Regions from separate parts of the Homo sapiens genome. Here region 1 is linked to region 2. Evidence: promoter capture Hi-C in 16 types of primary human blood cells and fetal thymus (Javierre and others, 2016). All regions are on one chromosome and are shown on one strand. Each heading gives the region's core, a stretch centred on a gene start or on the middle of the fragment in contact. The rest is flanking DNA. Distances are from core to core; before and after follow the strand shown. Region 1 overlaps CSRNP1 (cysteine and serine rich nuclear protein 1). Region 2 holds the start of SLC25A38 (solute carrier family 25 member 38).

What was found. Contacts are between HindIII fragments. The CHiCAGO score rates a contact against its expected background, and 5 or more counts as called.
Region 1: a fragment that was not itself captured here is called in contact with the fragment with the promoter of SLC25A38 in region 2 in 2 of 17 cell types (fetal thymus and naive CD8 T cells); the score reaches 7.3 in fetal thymus.

The regions. Positions count from the first base shown.
Region 1 is chr3:39,140,645-39,143,666 of GRCh38, reverse strand. CSRNP1 (cysteine and serine rich nuclear protein 1) reads left to right here. Exons shown (of 5, transcript NM_033027.4): 5 at 1-1,812. The coding sequence ends at 612. Among named protein-coding and RNA genes, the nearest start is that of MIR6822, 4.0 kb to the right of the region's middle. The HindIII fragment of the contact is 8,062 bases long and covers 1-3,022 here.
Region 2 is chr3:39,381,577-39,384,852 of GRCh38, reverse strand. It overlaps SLC25A38 (solute carrier family 25 member 38), which reads right to left and starts at 1,483. Exons shown (of 7, transcript NM_017875.4): 1 at 1,060-1,483. The coding sequence starts at 1,128. LOC105377644 (a long non-coding RNA gene) reads left to right here and starts at 528. Exons shown (of 3, transcript XR_007096252.1): 1 at 528-612; 2 at 1,809-1,900. RefSeq lists enhancers at 275-344, 815-864, 875-974, 995-1,174 and a silencer at 435-584. The HindIII fragment of the contact is 12,754 bases long and covers 1-2,373 here.

The sequences.
Region 1 (3,022 bases), core at 420-2,919, 240 kb after region 2:
GATGATGACAGCCTGGCACGCATCTTGAGTTTCAGTGACTCTGACTTCGGTGGGGAGGAGGAGGAAGAGGAGGAAGGGAGCGTGGGGAACCTGGACAACCTCAGCTGCTTCCATCCAGCTGACATCTTTGGTACTAGTGACCCTGGTGGCCTGGCCAGCTGGACCCACAGCTATTCTGGCTGTAGCTTCACATCAGGCGTCCTGGATGAGAATGCCAACCTGGATGCCAGCTGCTTCCTAAATGGTGGCCTTGAAGGGTCAAGGGAAGGCAGCCTTCCTGGCACCTCAGTGCCACCCAGCATGGACGCTGGCCGGAGTAGCTCAGTGGATCTCAGCTTGTCTTCTTGTGACTCCTTTGAGTTACTCCAGGCTCTGCCAGATTATAGTCTGGGGCCTCACTACACATCACAGAAGGTGTCTGACAGCCTGGACAACATCGAGGCACCTCACTTCCCCCTGCCTGGCCTGTCTCCACCTGGGGATGCCAGCAGTTGCTTCCTGGAGTCCCTCATGGGCTTCTCCGAGCCAGCCGCCGAAGCCCTAGATCCCTTTATTGACAGCCAGTTTGAGGACACTGTCCCAGCATCTCTAATGGAGCCTGTGCCGGTGTGAGGACCAGGATGTCTTTTCCCAGCCCCAAGAGACCTGTTGCTGCTTTCTTGTAATTATGGGGCTCCCCAGAGTCTGCGTAACAGTCTCCCACTGGCTGGCTCACCCACAGGTGCCATGTGCACACTCCTGGTTTTCAAACAATTCTCTGGATTTATTTATTTGTTTTAACTTTTCTGTGCTGAAGAGAGGACTGGGGGGAGGGGGCTTCCCCTTTCAGCTGCCCGGCCCCCCACACCCACAGCTTGCTCTTCTATCTCCACAACGTGAGCCTGGAAGAGGAGAAAATGTGGCTCCTCTGGAGCTTGGCAGACCACTTTTCGGTCTTTGCGTGATGTTCCTTAGCCCAAAGACGGTGAGACAGGGCTGAAATCAGGTGGCTTCTGCCACCCTGAGCCCTAGACCCATGGGTGGCTAAATCCACTGGACTGTGAAGACTATAATTTATTTCCATAATTTATTTGGAGATTGAGGAGGCTTTGGTTGCACTTCTTTGGCTGGTGGGTAATGCCAGGGGTGGGGTGGGCACAGGCCCTCAAGAGCCCCTTTTGCCTTGTAGTCCTACACCTTGCCCTGCCTGGGCTTTGGTGCAGACTAGGTGTGGATTTGAGCTCTGTGATCTATGTCTGCTGCCTGGCTCCTAGATGGCTCTGTGGGCAGGTGCTGGCCAAGGACATCATCTAGGCAGGGGGAGAGCCTGGGCTGAACAGCTGTGACCAAAACTCCCTTCTGCCCCACCCTGCCCCCTCCACTTCCTGCCCTCTGTTCCATCTTCCCCCTTCCCAAAGGCCACAGCCTTTATTCCAGGCCCAGGGATGTAGGAGGGGGAAGGAGGAAACAGGAAGCCCAGAGAGGGCAAAGGGCCTACCTCGGGGCGCGAACCATGCCCCAGACTATTATCTCAGGGCTTTCTGGGCACTGCACTTCAGCGTGGCCCACCTGCCCATGCCCTGAGGCCAGTTGGCGAGGGGTGGCTCCTGAGGGTTTTTATACCCTTTGTTTGCTAATGTTTAATTTTGCATCATAATTTCTACATTGTCCCTGAGTGTCAGAACTATAATTTATTCCATTTCTCTCTGTGTCTGTGCCAAGAAACGCAGGCTCTGGGCCTGCCCCTTGCCCAGGAGGCCTTGCCAGCCTGTGTGCTTGTGGGAACACCTTGTACCTGAGCTTACAGGTACCAATAAAGAGGCTTTATTTTTAGCAATGTGGTATGTATTTGTGGGGTGGGAAGCAGGGGCAAAGGGGATGGGGGACAAGCCCTGCAGAGGGGAGTATGGACACAGGCTGTGTTGAGGGGTAGGAGTAGGCACACCCAGCATATTGGGCCTCTTTCCAGGCAAGCCAGTCAAGTTGGAGGCAGGAAGCCAGCTGAGAGGCTGGCCAGGCAGATAGAGCAGTTTTTCCTTTGGAGTAACCTGTTCCTCTACAGTGGTGACCTGGGGTGGTGGGGAGGAGCAGCACCAGGGTCTTCTGACATGGGGCTATCTGCTGGGGATGGGTAAGGGCACCCTTCTTCCTACACACCCACACTGAGCTGAGGCCTTGTCCTGAGGGTGAATTCACCAACCTGGGTGGAGGCAGGGTAAGGGCATGTGCCTGGTCAAGGCCTGGTGATGGCCTTACGTAGCAGCTGTGGTCCCTGGGGACTTGAGCAGGGGGGCAGCGGAAAGGGCAGGGGGAAGCTGCAGAACCTCATCCCTCTGCACCAGCCAGACCTGTCTGACCTGTCCCTGGCAGCTCAGCTGGGCAGCAGGCCAGAGGAGTAGGCCACACCCTGCTCTGGGGAGCCCCAGTCTGGGGGCCTGAGAAAGGTTGACTTCCCCCTTAGGAATGATAGTGATTTGTACAAGAGCTGGAAGGAGGAACCGCCAGAGGAGAACTGATTTGGGTCTCCTTGCTCTAATTCTCTGCCTTGGTCTGTACTGGGCTCACTCATCTCTTTGGCTTAACTGGTAAGAGCACAGAGCCAGAATGCTGGGCTTGAATCTCAGATTTTCTGCTACCTAGTGAGGTGATTTGTGCAAATTACTCCCTCTGTGCCTGGGTGTCCTCAATACTACATGCAAACAGTAACACTACTCACCTCATAAACTTGTTTATTTCATATTTACAAAGCCCTTAAAGAGTGCCTGGAACATGCAAGTCCTGTGTATGTTTGCAACTTGCATTGATTTTCATGTTTCTGCCATTCTTTCTCTGAATGTTTAATCCTTTTTTTGCCTGTCCTGTCACCCTTCAGGTATCTGTCTCTTGCCTCTGGACATGCATGGTCATGACCACATGGCCATATCAGTGCCATTAGAGGACTCATAGTTTGGAGTCTGGCCTATGGTGCGGCAGTATGTCCCTGTAACCAGCTTAACTAGGAATAGGCTTCTCAGGTTAGAGTACCCTGGTACATTGAGTTGTC
Region 2 (3,276 bases), core at 234-2,733:
CTCCAGCGCGGGCGACAGGGCGAGACTCTGTCTCAAAAAAAAAAAAAAAGAAAAAAGAAAAGAAAGCTCAAAAATATATTCAAGGTAAATAAAAAAGTAGTTTCTTTTTAAGGGGAGAAAGAAGAGGGCATAAACAATAATACGCACACGAAATAAGTAGCACATAAGAGTACAAACTGGATCCACAAGCAATTCCTACTGCCCTGAAAAAACTATCCTAAGTCCAATTCACATCTGGAGGCGAGGGCTGGAGAGCCCTGAAAAAGGTAAGCAGGTTTTCAAAGACGTCAACGTAAAGTCGCCACCGCCGCCGTCTCCGCCTTTAAGGATTAAAAAAAAAAATAAAAGCCGCCCCTACCTCGGGCGCAAGACCTCAGAGGGAGAGCTGCGGCAGCTGCAGTGGCCTCAGGCCTTTAGCGTCTAAAGACTGGTTGCACCCCGACTCCACCTACCGGGCAACCACGCCGCCAGCCCCGCCTCCGCCTCCACCAATAGCGGCCCGGCGGCCCGGGCACGATGACCAATCGAACGCCGGAGGAGGCGTGGCGTCGCTGGGGGACCACGCGCCGTCCCAACAGGCTGGAAGGGTGCCGCCACGACTGGCCCCTCCAGGTAGGCCGCCGCCCGCGGGCGCACAGCGCTACCCGGCCAGCTCGCTGCGGCATCAACGGCTTCTCAGCGTCAGCGCTATTATCAGGCCTTGTGACCGTCCCAAATCTGCCCGGGTGCCCTTCCACCTGGCAGCCTACTCGCACCTTGTGGGGGCCGCGCGGGCACACTCCCCGGCACGCGTCCAGTCCAGGCCCCGGCAATTCCGCCCTTTACCGGGACATCGGCCCTACAGCGCCTGCCCCCAGGGCTGGCCTGCAGCTCCTGGCCTCTCCTCACTCCCTGCCCCCTTCTCAATTCCCTTAGTCAGACTCCTCTCCCGCCGCATCCTAAATCCTGAGCGCACCCTGGGGCGCGGAAAAGGGTAGCCGAGCCTTAGCAACGCCCCGAATTCTCCGGCCCGAGCCCGCGGTTCGGACCCCTGCCCTTCCTTCCCCGCAGTGCCCTCACCATAAGCGTTTCCACCGTGTCTCCGACATCTTGGGGTTGCAGCAGCGACGGACGTGAGTTCTGAATCATTGGAGATGAGGCCCGCGAGTCCTCTGGGCCCAGGGTGCCGTCGACGGGCGCTTGGGCCCAGCCCTGGAGGCCTTGAAGAAGGCTAGGGGGTGGCGCTAGCCAGGCGACGCGCTTTAAGCCGCGGGCTCTCTGACGTCTGCGCCTATAAGCACGCAGCCGCCGGGGTTCGGATCCTGCTAGTCCAGGGGCTGCGGGCGCGGAACAATCTTGCTGCGGGAATTACGCGCCGCTCTTCACCCGCGCCGCAGACTCCGCGGCTCTGCTCTCCTGCCCATCCTGCCCTGCTGCAGGCTTCAGCACCGTAGGAGATGAGGTTCTGTGTATCCCGGGGTGGAGGAAGCGCCGGAGGAACTCTGTAGAAGGGGAGATTTCGCTTCCGGGTGGGACGCTTGTCACGTGAGGGTGTTCTGAGTGCCACCTGGTGAAAACGCCCAGAACTGAAGGATCCGCGCTTCCTTGCACCCAGAACTTAATGGAGCGTCTGCAGGGAACTTTGCTTTTGCGTGGAACGTCTGAACGTATTTACAATCCAGACCTGGTCTGCCCAGTAAGGCAGCCACTAGCCAACGTGGGCTATTGATTTATTAATTGATACATTAATTTTAATTATATTAAAACAAGCAGTGTGGAATGCTTTCTCCTTAAACAGGCGTTTTTTTGTTTTGTTGTTTTTTTTTCAGGACCATATTTCCCTTTAAATGCTGAAAATTTAGTGTGGAATTGATATGTACTGTATGCATAAACCACACGCTGGATGTCTAAGACTGGTGAGGTAAAATCTCAATAATTTTTATATGTTGAAATGATATTTTGGATATATTGGGTTAGGTGAAATATTAAAATTAACTTCAGGCCGGGGGCAGTGGCCCAGGCCTGTAATCTCAGCACTTTGTGAGGCCTAGTCTGGAGGATTGCTTGAGGGAGCCAAGGAGTTGGAGACCAGCGTGGACGACAAAGCAAGACCCCGTCTCTAAAACAAATAATAATAACTTCATGTGTTTCTTTTTAAATGTGGCTAGTAAAACATTTAAACTTTAACATGTGGCTCCCATTACATTTCTGTAGGACAGCGCTGGTCTAGTTGGTCAAAATTCTGGTTTATTGCTCACCTGGAATCTGTCAATGGCTTTTTTGGTCTCCCAACTTCCCCTTATGCCTGTCTGGCTGATCCATGGAAAAGCATTACTGCTGGGATCCTGACACTCCTGTTGAAAATGCAGTGGCCCTGGTAATAAAGTCCAAGCTTTTCATAGCAACCTTCGCTACTTTCCACCTTCATTCATCACCCAAGAACTAGATCAGAAAGGAAAGTGACTTAGGGAGCAAGATAATATTTTTTCAGGCTTCATTCCTGTGCTTCTGAGGTACATAGAACAGGAAGGAAAGTGGTCCCAGAGGAGGTTATTCCCAGAAAGGATTAAGGAAAGTATAAACATTAAAAAAAAAAAAAAAATTACAGGCCGGGTGCGGTGGCTCACGCCTGTAATCCCAGCACTTTGGGAGGCCGAGGCGAGCCGATCACGAGGTCAGGAGATCGAGACCATCCTGGCTAACATGGTGAAATCCCGTCTCTGCTAAAAATATAGCCGGGTGTGGTGGCAGGCGCCTGTAGTCCCAGCTACTCGGGAGGCTGAAGCAGGAGAATGGCGTGAACCCAGGAAGTGGAGCTTGCAGTGGGCCGAGATCGTGCCACTGCACTGCAGCCTGGGCGACAGAGCGAGACTCCATCTCAAAAAACAAAACGAAACAAAATTACAAACCTGCCTGGTGATTGAATACTTTGCTACCCTTTGTTCTAAGCTGCAAGGCTTATTTTTCTTTGTGCAGTAGTGATGTTGATAACTATGCACTGAAACTTCTTTTTAAAGGAAGACCTAATTCCACCCTGACACCCACCCCCGCTGCACTGATTCCATAAGACAAGAATCCCTACTTTTGAGAAATCATGGGTTGGCGTATTTTAGAGACTGCTCTTGGCCACTCTGGGTGTGGGAACACAGGTGGGATCTAGAGTGAAAGCCGGCCCTCCACTCCCTCACCCTTCCAGGTATGCCTGCTTGGCTGTGGGCTCAGAAGAAATGGGCTGGCTTTCAAGGGTGGCAGCTGGCAGATTTCCCTCCTCTGTATCTGCTCCTGCCATGCTTACTC